2 separate regions of the Homo sapiens genome follow, and region 1 is linked to region 2. The links are contacts of gene promoters, found by promoter capture Hi-C in blood cells and fetal thymus (Javierre and others, 2016). All regions are on one chromosome and are shown on one strand. The core of a region is centred on a gene start or on the middle of the fragment in contact, and the rest is flanking DNA. Distances in the headings are between cores, read along the strand shown. Region 1 overlaps TXNL1 (thioredoxin like 1). Region 2 holds the start of NARS1 (asparaginyl-tRNA synthetase 1).

The links. Contacts are between HindIII fragments. The CHiCAGO score rates a contact against its expected background, and 5 or more counts as called.
Region 1: a contact is called between a fragment that was not itself captured here and the fragment with the promoter of NARS1 in region 2, in 2 of 17 cell types (naive CD4 T cells and total CD8 T cells). The highest score is 5.9, in naive CD4 T cells.

What each region holds. Positions count from the first base shown.
Region 1 is chr18:56,602,501-56,609,876 of GRCh38, forward strand. TXNL1 (thioredoxin like 1) reads right to left here. Exons shown (of 8, transcript NM_004786.3): 8 at 1-556. The coding sequence ends at 527. Among named protein-coding and RNA genes, the nearest start is that of TXNL1, 32 kb to the right of the region's middle. The HindIII fragment of the contact is 1,071 bases long and covers 3,142-4,212 here.
Region 2 is chr18:57,619,511-57,626,342 of GRCh38, forward strand. NARS1 (asparaginyl-tRNA synthetase 1) reads right to left here and starts at 2,326. Exons shown (of 14, transcript NM_004539.4): 1 at 2,198-2,326; 2 at 1,059-1,141. The coding sequence starts at 2,207. RefSeq lists enhancers at 2,175-2,879, 2,260-2,599. The HindIII fragment of the contact is 17,897 bases long and covers 1-6,832 here.

The DNA.
Region 1 (7,376 bases), core at 2,427-4,926, 1.0 Mb before region 2:
GAGTAGCTAAATCTCATTAAACCTGTTTATTTCTTCTAATTTATAATTTGAGTAATTTCCATAGCTCAGATATACAAATGTCCTTTAATAAAAATGCAGTAATAATTTAACATGGTTAGCTGTTCCAGGTTCACTTATCAAAATAACTTGCCATGAATGTGTACACATGTACTTCTTAATTCCCTAGAACAGTTTCTCCTTTTCTAAAGAAACTGGCTTTCAATCAATATACTACCAGACACTTAAGTCTCTACTAAAATCAGAAGTTAACCAGTTTTCAAATACATGGAAAGAGAAAATACTGATTTAGAAAGACAAAAATTAAGCTTGGCAAAAGTGGTGACTTTTATTTACAATTGCATGTGTCAAGATTACAATGGAAACACTAGTGATACCATCTGAACAAAAGCAATGATTTATTGGTAATGGCAATGAATGAAACATTGACAGTCTCTGGCGAGAATCAAGCAATTATCCAGGAGCTGTAGATCTGATTGCAATATGGTTGTCCAGTGTCTTTTGTACCTTAGTGGCTTTCTCCTTTTTTGCCAACTACCTAGAAAAACAAAAATAAGTTTATATGTACATCCTATTGATTTTAAATATGAGTTATTAAAAATACTAATAATCAGTTTAAAACCTTGGTATTAATTTTTATCCTTGGATCTTTTCTGGCATGCAATGTATTTTCACTGTTGAAGCAAACTGTGACCTCCCCTCCAATCCCAGCCACAAGGAATTAAAAATAAAACACATGCAGGCTATTTTTGGTTTCACACAGTTTTTTTTTTTTTTTTAAATAGCAATTTTTAAAAACAAGGTTGAAAGTTTAGAGAAGTTAATTTAAAAAATGATGCTATATGAGTAAAACATATTTGACATACTATTTTTAGATAGTTAGAAATCAAATGTCGATCACAAAAGAATCTGGAATTAGAAGCGTATGTTAAACTCATGTCCTTCATGCCCAATATAGCAAATTTCCAGACTTTCCCCCTCAATACACTGACATGCAATGAAAACAGATTAAAAGTGACTAATTTTTTCTGGTTTAAGAAAAAGATCCTGGTTACTTTAAGAGTACTATTAAAAATGAAATGAATAAACCTTGTTTCTGTCAATGATTAGAAAAATCCTCTACTGGAGGATTATAAAAAACATTCTGGTTGCTATATATGTGGCAGCATAAAAATGTGAAGAATAAAAATTTGTTCTCTACCAACAAATCTAGAAAACAAATTCTCTGCAGGAGAGTTTGAAAACTATGTTCTAATTGAGAAATGTACTGACAACTTACAGTTTATCATTAGATAATGTATTCTTAGGGCAAAAATGCCTTGAAAGAAACCTACTTGCAAAATACTGAATGTATGTTTGTGTAGAAAGATTTCTGTGTACATTTATATATTTAATTTTCGTATTTTACATTGATTCTATTCTAAATGGCAGTATCTATACCAGCAAAACTCATAAAGGTCATCAGTACATGTCTGGTCTAAAATATAACATAGCTGGGTCAACATCATTCATGAGAGACCTGAAAGCTTTCCACTGAAATCCCAATCACACAATCCTAGAAATGTTTTTCCCACCCTAAGAAAACTCACTTCTAGTACCTTAAAAGAACTCCCCTTTGGTCCAAAGACACCATGTTAGAAAGCTCACAAGGTAGCAAGATGATAAAAAGGCAGTTTCATATAAAAGAATGTGGATAAGAGTAAGAAATTCAGGTTTTAAGAGCCACTAGAAGGGGAACTGGCATTATCTCTATCACAAGTAAATTTTGTGCTGATAAACACTGAGAGCATTATTGATCATTGTATTACTTGGGAAACACAAAACACAAAGCTATTAGATTAAGCAAAAGAAAACAAAAACAAATATTAAAAATTAAACTTCTAGCAGATGTGATACAGAAGACACAAATCTGCATACTGTTTCACAGGTTGATAACTCTCAACTTGCCAATGTGTATTTTCTGTAAAAAAGAAGAAATTCAACATTCCAACATGGATTGTCATCCCAAACGTAAAGCTCTTTTATTCATTCTTAAGTCTTTATATTACACCTCAGACAAACCAAAATTTAGGTACATAAAAATTAGGTGTAAAAAATATTTATTCAGTAAAGAGTCCATTGATCTTCTATATTAATATGTTAACCCAACCTAATATTCAGTCCATAAGTCCTTCAACTGGTTTTGAGCTCACTTGGGCAAAAGCAGAGGACATGCCCCAATCAATCATCAAAAGGACTTTGGGGCTAACATTCCAACGAGGAAAAGAAAACCAACACCCCTCAACTGAAATGTAATCAATATATTAAACTAGCACAAACATAAAAGAACTTGATGCAACTGCTATATTTGTTTTCCAAAAGAATTCTATAGTTCCTAGGAAATAAAATTTAAAGTTTAGAATGGATTAAAACTATTCAACTAGTTAAATCTAAAACATTTTATAACAATTTAATTTTATTGTGATGTTATGCCTCAAAATGTAATACAAAATTAAATATGAAACAGTAGAAAGTAAAAAAAAAAAAAGGCTAGTGAGCAACACGGTATGGTAAAAAATTAAAGCACCTAGTTGCAAGCCCAAAACAAAAGCCAAAACAAAATAAAAGGCCAATTAAGAAACACAACTAGGATGAGATCTGAAGAAAGAGATGATTGAGGAAACCTAGGTAACAAGGCTGATCCAGATGATAGAAGCTGTAGAAATCTTGCACCAACAATGGCGAGAACATGGGAAGGGTGAGAGCAGACAGGTGCTAGATGAGCAGAGAAGCAAGGAGGGGAGTAGAGTGAGACAAGGTCAATCTTTATATTACTTCATTTTAAAATATCTTCTGTTTTTAGTTCATTTGAGTTGGATTAAAAAAGCTGAAAAATAAACAGACAGAAATGTTACAAAAATAGCTGATACGGTGAATGGCCAGTTTAGAAAAGTCTATTTTTATTATAGTGATAAAAATCTTTTCACATGCACCTCATTTCCTAAGAAGCAGAAGCCCCTATAATTTTCTCATTTTTGTATTTTTATAAAATTGTAATTAAAAATTCTGTATTAAAATAAAGCAATCCATATAAAGAGCATATTTTAGCAAAAACATCTACTTCCAATTAAGATGGCAATGGCAAGCTTTTCATGCTGCAACACAAAAAATCCATTGACAACAACAAACAGCCAAAGTATAGATTATAATCTGTGCGTGATGCCTATAAGAGCCAAAACCAGACAAGTGGAAGGGGTATTCTAGTCTGTCAAACCTTAAAAGTCTAACCTTCAAAGTTGTAATAGCATGAAAGGTTGTCTAAGATTTCTGTCCACATTGGAGATTCAACAGCATTACCTTAGCTTCTGTCAGATATCTTAGTGACATAAGAAGTCAGTGACATACTAAAAACGGAAATTATCCAGAAACAGCTCACACAAGATAAAAATATAAACTGAAAATGCTAAACATTTGATCTACTTTATTATTCATTAAGCCATTTTATATAGCGCCCTTCACTACACAGAGGTCATCAAAATTTTCCTCCCTGTGCCTATAAAATATATGCCAAATCTATTTCAAAATTTTCAATTCTAGGCCAGGCATGGTGGCTCACGCCTGTAATCCCAGCACTTTGGGAGGCCCAGGCGGGCGGATCAACGAGGTCAGGAGATCGAGACCATCCTGGCTAACACGGTGAAACCCCGTCTCTACTAAATATACAAAAAAATTAGCCAGGCGTAGCGGCGGGCACCTGTAGTCCCAGCTGCTACAGAGGCTGAGGCAGGAGAATGTGGTAAACTCGGGAGGCAGAGCTTGCAGTGAGCCGAGATCACACCACTGCACTCCAGCCTGGACAACAGAGCAAGACTCCGTCTCAAAAAAAAAGAAAAAAATTTCAATTCTAATTACTATGTATATACTAATTCAGACTGAGCAAACAAGTAAAAGAAAAGACATGCCACATGTGACTTGTCCTTGAACGATTGAATCCTCCACCTTCCTAAGTTCATGTCCAGGTCCCTACTTTTCCATTCTATCAAGGGTGCCCATAGCTGCCTGTTGAACTGTCCAAATTCTACTCTCAAAACTTAGTTCAAGGCCCTCTTTCTTCACAAAGTATTCTCAGACTTTCCCAGTCGTTGGGGGAAAAGGAAAAGTCACCTAGCTGGTAACGTCTGAGAATACTCTGTGGACAAAGAAACCCTTGAACTAAGCTTTGATTAATTTTGATTAACTTTCCCTATGTTTGTCCCTATGTTATCTACAAGAATATAAACTGCTGTAGACAGAGATCATGACTGAAGAGTAGTCCCTCCTTATCCATGCTTTCACTTTCTGCAGTTTCAACTGCCTATGGTGCAGTACAATAAGATATTTTGAGACAGTGAGAGAAAGAGCAAGCATGGGAGAGACCATATCCATGTCAACTTTTAACCACAGTATATTGTTGTAATTGCTCTATTTTATTATTAGTTGGTGTTAATCTTTTTTATTTTTCTTTCTTTTTGATATGGGGTCTTGCTCTGTCACCCAGGCTGGAGTGTAGTGGCGTGATCCTAGCTCGCTGCAGCCTTGAACTCCAGGGTTCAAGCGATCTTCCCACCTCAGCCTCCCAGGTAGCTAGAACTACAGGTGTGCCCACCACCTTGCCTGGGTAATTTTGTGTGTGTGTGTGTGTGTGTGTGTGTGTGTATTCTTATAGAGATGGAATCTTACTATGTTTATCAGGCTGGTCTTGAACTCCTGGGCTCAAGTGATCTTCCCACCTCAGCCTCCCAAGTAGCTGGGACTACAGGTGCACCCACCGTCTTGCATGGGTAATTTTTTTTTTTTTTTAAATAGAGATGGAGTCTTACTATGTTTGCCAGCTGGTCCTGAACTCCTGGGTTTAAGTGATCTTCTAGCCTTGGCCTCCGGAAGTGATGGGATTATAGGCATGAGCCACCATGCTCTGGCTTTGTTGTTAAATCTCTTACTGTGCCTAATTTATACATTAAACATTATCAGCGGTATGTATATATGTACAGATGCTCCTCGACTTCCGATGGGGTAATATATCCCGATTAAACCCATTGTAAAGACCAGGCACGGTGGCTCATGCCTCTAATCCCAGTACTTTGGAAGACCAAGGAAGGCAGTGAGGTCAGGAGTTTGAGACCAGCCTGGCCAACATGGTGAAACCCCATCTCTACTAAAAATACAAAAATTAGCCGGGTATGGTGGCAGGCGCCTGTAATCCTAGCTACTTGGAAGGCTGAGGCAGGAGAATCACTTGAACCCGGGAGGCAGAGGTTGCAGTGAGCTGAGATCGCACCATTGCACTACAGCCTGGGTGACAAGAGTGAAACTCCATCTCAAAAAAATAAAAATAAGTAAACCCATTGTAAGGTGAAAATATTGTAAGTCAAAAATGCTTAACTGCCCCACACTTAAGAGAATGGTTTCTACTGAGTGCATTATCAATTTTGCACTATTGTAAACTTGAACCATCATAAGTTGGGAACCATCTGTATAGGAAAATACACAGTATGTACAGGGTTTGTTAGTGTCTGTGGTTCCAGGCATCCACCGGGGGTCTAAGAATGTATCCCCCCGCCCCGACAGATAAGGAGAGACTATTGTACTAGCATCGTACTACAGGGACAAAAGATACCATACCACATATTATTTCCTTCAATGAAAACCAAACTCAATTATAATTTTTAATAAGCAAATCTATCTGTACAAGGACTAAGCTGGCCAATTTCAGTTACATGTAAACCCTCTTTTTCTTTTTTTAACTACATTGAAGTTGTTACTTTGTACAATATAAAAACAATGAAATACTAGCTTACTTTTAAAGAATAACCCTAAAAGACAAAGAATAACTACAGTACAAATGTCATTCAGAAATATTACAAGAAAATGCAATATTAATATACCTAAGAAAATCACTTAATCAACTAAAATTTATTAAACATTAAAAGCAAGGGGCTAAGAAGCCCAGAACACCAACAAGGGAGTAGATTATGGTATTCAAATTATTCTTGTAGCAGTTCTCAAAGTGTGGTCTCCAAGACCCTCTCAAGGAGTCTGGGAGGTCAACACTATTTTCATAATGCTAAATCGTTTTTTGCCTTTTAGACTCTTATTCTCTTCACAAGTATCCAGGGGAGTTTTCCAGGGGCTATATGATGTGTGACAGGAAAGCTGACTGAATGCAGAAGCAGATATGAGAAGGAAAGGACACTATAAGGCTCGTAAACAGAGAAGCCTGGGCAACATAGTAAGACCCTGTCCCCACACAAAAATAAAACATTAGCCGAGTGTGGTGGCACACGCCTGTAGTCTCAGCTACTCGTGAGGCTGAGGCTGGAGGATCACTTGAGCCCAGGAGTTTGAGGTTGCAGTAAGCCATAACTGTGCCTCTGCACTGCAGCATGGGTGACAGAACAAAACCCTGTCTCAAAAAAAAAAAAAAAAAAATCATAAAATTCTGAATCAATGCTCTTCTTACCAAATTGGTTTTTCTTTTAGAAAATATGCTTATTTCTAATTTAAAAATATTCATTAACATGTGTTCATTATTTACAAATATTTTTTATATTTCCCACTTTTAACTTATAAATGGCAAATATCAGATAAATATAGCCCACATAAACAAAAGTTCTTTTTGGCCTTCAATAGTATTTAATAATATAAAGAGGTCCTGAGATCAAAAAGCTTGAGAACTGCTATCATATGGTAATTTAAAGTTAAAAAAAATCAAATGAATAAATGGCTGTTATAAAACAAGCACAAATACTCTCAAACAAAAAAGGTCTTACACCTTTGCTATCCTAAAGACAGCCCCCAAAAACGTAGTTTGACAGTCAGAAAAGAGAAAATACTAGGCTAGAAGGGATGTGAGGGGGATGTTAAACACGAGGTGGAGGCAGATAGTTAGATGGATAATTATTCATGCAAATTAGAGAAACTTTAACTGAATGGCTAGCTGGTAAGAAGGTAAACAAGATAGAATGGTGGTTACAGAAAAAAATGAAAATCAAATAGCATAAACTGAGGTAAGAAACAGGAAACTAGAGCCAAATTAATGAATGATATGAGAAAATAATAAGATAATAGTAATAGATCTTATAAAAAACTAAGTTAAGAATAAACCACACAAGGCACACTTAAAGCCAAGTCCAATGGCATCTAATTCAAAAAGGTAAAGCAGGCAGCCAAGACGTCTTTGTTGCTCACACATTTTCCCAATAAAACATATTTCATATCGTAAAAATGTAGATGCTTAATCTCTGCTTCTTCTGACCTGTCATAATACATATGTGAAACATCTAGACATAACAGCTCTAAAGTGCATAATTATTCCTGCAGTCCCCAAAAGGTAATCACGC
Region 2 (6,832 bases), core at 1,076-3,575:
GTGAGGCACCAAAGCCCAGACCCAAGGAAGGAACTTTTAACCATCTTCCTTATGTGGCAGTTATAGCCAATGGATTCTAGCATATGAGTTCAACAGCTAAGTCCATGGTCTATTTTAAGAAGGTTGTCTTAGGCCACACTTTACTCTGATATAATCAACTACCTAACACCCATGTTGTGAGTCCAAGCCCTTTTTTTGTTTTTTCTTCTGAGACAGGGTCTCAGGCTAGAGTGCAGTGGCGCAATGGTGGCTCACTGCAACCTCCACCTTCCAGGCTAAAGAAATCCTCACCTCAGTCTCCGGAGTAGCTGGGACCACAGGCACGCACCACCATGCTGGGCTAATTTTTATGTTTTTTGTAGAGCCAGGATTTCACCAAGTTGCCCAAGCTGGTCTCAAACTCCTGCGCTGAAGCAATCCACCTGCCCCGGCCTCCCAAAGTGTTGAGATTATAGGCGTGAGCCACCACACCAGGCCTGAGTCCAAGCTCTTGACAAACCCCTTTGAGAATGAGCTAAACTCATTCAAGGATTCTAGATCCTGAGAAATAACAGCACTGTTAATTCATTAACAGAATGTTAATAAATTGGCATTCTAGCTTGAAGCTCCAGACTCATGAGTCAGCTCTGACAAATGAATCCATTCTTGGTGGTCTTGGAGTCAAATCTCAGGATCACACTCTGGATTGTGGTAAATTCACCAAAAGCCCTCTCAGGAGCCCCCTGGTCATGAGCTCACTGTAACTGAGGAAAGGTAACTTTTATCTTTACAAGAATTGAAAACCCAGCAATCTGACTCAATGGAGAGAAAAATTCCAAGAAGCAATGCCATGTGGTAAGAAAGAAGAGACCTTTTTTCAAAATGTTAAAAAGTAAGTTTAGACTTTGATCATCTAACAATCTTAAAGTCACATATCTGTATGCATTCCTTACTTTCCCTTTTCTGAAAATTCTCTTTGGAACCTAGTGTTTGAAATTAAGTTCTTGGCAAGTCACAAGAAAATTGACATAACTCATTAATAAATGCAGTCTCATTTTCCTAATGAGAAGAGACTCTACCTTTAGACCTGTTTTAAATGGTTTCTCCTTGGTTCCATCTCCCGTGGCATCGCTTCCCTCTCGGTCAGAGACGTACAGCTCTGCTGTTTGACAAAATGAGGGTAAGTTATGGTCTGGCCATTAACTATTAGTCACCTTACTACTTTATTCATTCCTTATCTTTGTAAACAGAACAAGCATCGATTAATAAAAATTGAGGTCCATAAGTAATTAATATCCTAGTTATTTCCCCACTCCATTTCAATAACATCCATCTCATAAAAACATTAGTTAATAATCCAGGTTTTCAAAATGAACTCTGATCATTTTAATTTGTGATATTTATTCTATCTAATTGGGCACCCAAAAATAAAATATGGGCTTTGAAGTTGATCAGACATACGCTGGAATGTTGGATTTTGTACCTTAAAAGGCAGGGTGACTCTGGAGAATTTACTTAACCTTTCTGAGCTTATTTCTTTACCTATAAAATAGGAAAAACAATCCCCATCTTGAAAGGCTGTGCTGAGGATGAAATAAAATAACACATACAAATCAGATATCCCAGTGCCAGTTTTTGTAGAGATGGCAAATAAACACCAGCTCCCTCTGGACTTTAAAGGAAACAGAAGCTCTGAGGTTAGAAAATTTCAGAAGGCCTCACAACTAGTAGGTCTGAACAGTTAACATCCATCCAGGTCTCTCTCTTTTTTTTTTTTTTTTTCCTACTGCACAGTATGGTCTCCCCGGAAACCTCAATAAAAAAATGAGGGTGGGAGAAAAACAACTAGAATCCTAAAGCCCCTTCCTGACGATCACTTTGAAGAACTGCAGGAGTAGGGGCTACCCTGTGTCTGAACCCGTCCCAGCGCCTGAGTCTCAGCGCAATCGGGAGGTTTCGCAGCGGGGCAGGGGAAGGGCCCGGAGCCACCGCCATCGCAGCCCGGGGGAACGACGGACTCGGGGAAGCCCGGCCTGGCCCTTCAAGTCCCGGGCCCAGCAAAGGCCAGCACCCTCCCTCCCTCCCTCCCTGCAATCGGTCCCCAAACATTCGCGGGGCGCCCACTCTGGTAGGCACTAAGGAAAGCGCCGAAACCCGACTGGAGCAGAGTTCCTGCCCCAGGCAGGGAACACCGCGCCATACACTGAGTCTCACCCACCTAGCACCATGCCTGCAGTGGCCCTGGTCACCTCCAAGGACACAGACTGCAACACCGACGCCGTCTTATGACTCCAACGTGCACCGGCGGTTTCCGCGATTCCGGCGTTGCATCAGAGAGCGTAGATCTGAGGGCGCCTGCGAGAATCGGCCGAGCGCCGCGGTTCCATTGGTTACGAGAGGTGGGCGAGCGGCGCCGGGGCCGCCATCTTTGGTGAGGGCAGAGGCAACTTCCGGATCCAGAGACGCCCCGCCCCACGCGTTTGTGCAGCTCGGAAGGCGCTGCCTGTCCCGGAGCTCCGCGGCCCTGGAGACCCTGGCACAGTGTCACTTTTGCACCCTTCCTTCCCCGCCTCCCCAACTTTCCTTTCTGAATCTTCCAATTCCGCCCCAGCTGGAGGCGTGCGGGTCCTCTTGCAAACCAGACCAAGGATGTCGCCCCGATCCCCAGATGGTGGAGGCTGGTTGAGTTCATGTCACCAGCAAACACCGCGCCAGCTGCGAGACGGGGTGCGCGGCGGTGGAGGGGACGCAGCGGGTTGCGTAAACTTCCTTTTTTTTTTTTTTTTTTTTGAGACGGAGTCTCGCTCTGTCACCCAGGCTGGAGTGCAGTGGCGCGATCTCGGCTCACCGCACCCTCCACCTCCCGGGTTCAAGCGATTCTTCTGCCTCAGCCTCCCGAGTAGCTGGGATTACAGGCCTGTGCCACCATGCCCAGCTAATTTTTGTATTTTTAGTAAAGACGGGGTTTCACCATCTTAGTCAAGCTGGTCTCGAACTCCTGACCTTGTGATCCGCCCACCTCGGCCTCCCAAAGTGCTGGGATTACAGGCGTGAGCCATCGCGCCCGGCCAGATGCGTTAACTTTCTAAACTCCGTGAGCCAGCGTCCCTCGGTGTTCAGGAGAGGAGCTATGGTATATGTTCATTTAAAATTGTAAGGATTACCGTTAGGAAGGCCATAATAATGTGGTGGAAAGAACGAGGGCTTCGGAATACAAACCTGGGTTCTGCCTTTTACTAACCGTGTGTCTTCAGATAAATTACCTAAACTGAATGAGCTTCATTCAGCGAGTTGGGACCGATTGCAGGGAGGGAGGGAGGGTCCTGGCCCTTGCTGGGCCCGGGACTTGAAGGGCCAGGCCGGGCTTCCCCGAGTCCGTTGTTCCCCGGGCTGCGATGGCGGTGGCTCCGGCCCCTGCCCCTGCCCCGCTGCGAAACATCCCGATTGCGCCGAGAGTCAGGCGCTGAGAGGGGTTTATCTGTGTCTTCAGATAAATTACCTAATCTGAATGAGCTTCAGTTTTTCTATTTGTGAAAGATGATATAAATTCACTGCCCGGGCATGTAAGAGGTGCTAATAAAGGGTCTGTCATCATTTTCAACTTTTTTTTACTTTTTTGGTGGGCTTTTTTTTTTTTTGGAGACTGGGTCTTCTCTGTTGCTCAGGCTGGAGTGCAGTGGTGCTATCATAGCTCACGGCAGCCTCGAACTCCTGGGCTCAAGTGAGCCTCCCACTTAAGCCTCCCAAGTAGCTGGGACTATAGGTGCACGCCACCACGCCTGGCTTATTTTATTTTTATTTTTGTGGAGATGGGGGAGGGGTCTCCCTGTGTCGCCCAGGCTGGTCTCCAACTTCTGGGATCAAGTGATCCTCCTGCCTCAGCCTCCCAAAGTGCTGGTCTTACAGGCGTGAGCTACCACGCCCAGCCCATTCTCAATTTAGTGGAATACCAGAGTTTGTCCCTGAAGCAAAAGAAAACCTTTTTTTTATGAGAGGTCCTCAAAAAAATAACTCTATATATAGGTTCAGGGCCCATCAAGAATATGAACCAAGTCCGGGCACAGTGGCTCATGATTGTTATCAATCCCAGCACCTTGGGAGGTTGAGGCGGGTGGATCACTTGAGGTCAGGAGTTGGAGACCAGTCTGGCCAACATGGTGAAACCCCGTGTCTACTCAAAATACAAAAATTAGCCGGGCGTGGTGGCACGCGCCAGTAATCCCGGTTACTCAGGAGGCTGAGGCAAGAAAATCACTTGAACCCAGGAGGCGGAGGTTGCAGTGAGCTGAGATCGTGCCACTGCACTCCAGTCTGGGTAACAGAGTGAGACTCCATCTCAAAAAAAAAAAAAAAAAAAAGTACCAAATACTATTCCTAAGGAATATTTCACCCAATTTTATGAACTTTCCCTTTTCCTCTTGGCTGAATGTTTTCTGTTGGCTCATGGATTAGTATCAATTGCTACAAAGCAAATTTTCCCAAACCTTAGCAGCTTAAAACCCCGAACATTTATTACCTTAGCAGTTTCTTTTGAGACAGTCTCAGTTCTGTCGCCCAGGCTGGAGTGCAGTGGCGCGATCTCAGCTCACTGCAACCTCCGCCTACCAGATTCAAGAGATTCTCCTGCCTCAGCCTCCCGAGGAGCTGGGATTACAGACGTGTGCCACTACGCCCAGCTAATTTTTGTATTTTGAGTAGACATGAGGTTTCACCATGTTGTCCAGGCTGGTCTTGAACTCCTGACCTCAAGTGATCTGCTTGCCTCGGCCTCCCAAAATGCTGGGATTACAGGCCTGAGCCACCATGCCAGGCCCTACCTTGCACAGTTTCTGATGGTCAGGAATAAGGTAGTGGGTTAGCTGGAGGTTCTGGCTCAGGTCTCTCATGAATCATGCTGAGGGCAGGGTCTGTAGTCATCCGAAGGCTTGGGTGGGTGGGGATCTGCCTCCAGGCTCACTCACAAGCTGTGGTCAGAAAACCTTTCCTTGCCAGGTGGGCTCCCGATAGAGCTGCTAATGACAGCCGCTGACTTCACCTAAAGCAAGTGATCAGAGAGAGAGAATATTAGTTACCTTTTATTTTATAATAAATTACCCCAAAACATCAAATGGCATTTGTTATCTCACATTTCTGTGGAATAGGTATCTGGGCACGGTTTAGCTGAGGACTCAGAGCTGAGTCCTTCCAGAGGCTGCAGTCAGCTTAAGTTGAGATTCTTAAGTCTCACCTGGAGTGGATCCCCTTCCACACACACTCAGGTGGGTGTTGGCCAGAGGTCTCCCTCAATTCTTTCCACACGGGCCTCTTGCTTGGCTAAAGCCAGCAACCAAGATGGAAGTTAGAACCTTTAGTTGCCTAATCTCACAAGGGATATATCCCAATACTTTTGCCATATTCGATTAATTAGGATCAAGTCACTTGGTCCAGCATACACTCAAAGGAAGGGTATTACACACTGGCATGGATGCCAGCAGCTGGGAATCATGGGCCATCTTAGAAAGCTCCCCACTGCAGTGACCAAAACTGAGGCTGCAGTGCCTTTTCTAACCTGACTTGTTAGGTGAAATGTCATTGTCTCTGCCATATTCTACTGGTCACACAGACCAGCCCTGGAGGTGAATGCCAGGAGGTGTTGCTCACTGGGTACCATCTTAGAGGCTGCCCACCATAGCCTGTCCAGATGAATTTCTCCACTTCATCCTGCTCCGCCCCAGAGGCTGACTCATGTGAACCACATCAATGGGCTCCCTCGTTCTCTGACTCCTGGTCAGCTGCAGCCAATGGGGAACACTTGTGGAAGAACAGAGGTGGGATGTGAGGTTGGGGTCCTTATTCCCGTAGCTCCTCATTGTAGGCTGGCTGCATCCTCACTTGAGGGCCACCGCTCCTGCCAGGTGGCACTGAGAGATTCATCTGAACTGCCCTTGGTGAATTTAGTTTCATCTGATCGTTAAAACTGAATTTACTGGCCAGGCACGGTGGCTCACCTTTGTAATCCCAGCACTTTGGGAGGCTGAGGCGGGCAGATCACTTGAGGCCAGGAGTTCGAGACCAGCCTAGGCAACATGGCAAAACCCCGTCTCTATTAAAAATACAAAAATTATCTGGGTGTGGTGGCATGCTCCTGTAATCTAGCTACTCAGGAAGCTGAGGCAGGAGAGTTGCTTGAACCTGGGAGGTGGAAGTTCCAGTGAGCCAAGATCAGGCCACTGCATTCCAGCCTTGGTGACAGAGTGAGATTCTGTCTCAAAGAAAAAAAAAAAAAAAGTGAATTTACAAAGCAACATTCTGTTGTGAAATAAAAAGTGTACATAGGACTGTGCAAGCAGGTTGTACAAGAGGGTCATTTAAATTCCTACCCCCGCCTCAGTCTACACCTATAGACTCATAGGATTTCTCTATGTCAAGTTAGTGCAGGATGGAAAAAATGGGCCTAGTGTTGACATCTGCATAATATGCTGGCACATGCCAGATATGAACAGCCATTCTACTCTAGCCTTACTTAGGAGAAACCCTAAAAAGACAGTGGGGAGGGTGGGCAAGGTGGCTCACACCTGTGATCCCAGCACTTTGGGAGGCCGAGGCGGGCTGATCACCTGAGGTCAGGAGTTTGAGACCAGCCTGGCCAACATGGCGAAACCCCATCTTTACTAAAAGTACAAAAATTAGCTGGGCATGGTGGCAGGCGCCTGTAATCCCAGCTACTCAGGGGGCTGAAGCAGGAGAATCGCTTGAACCCGGGAGGCGGAGGTTGTAGTGAGCCTAGATCACGCCAGTGCATTCCAGCCTGGGCGACAAGAAGGAGACTCCGTCACAAAAAAAAAAAAAGAAAGAAAGAAAAGAAAAAGAAAAA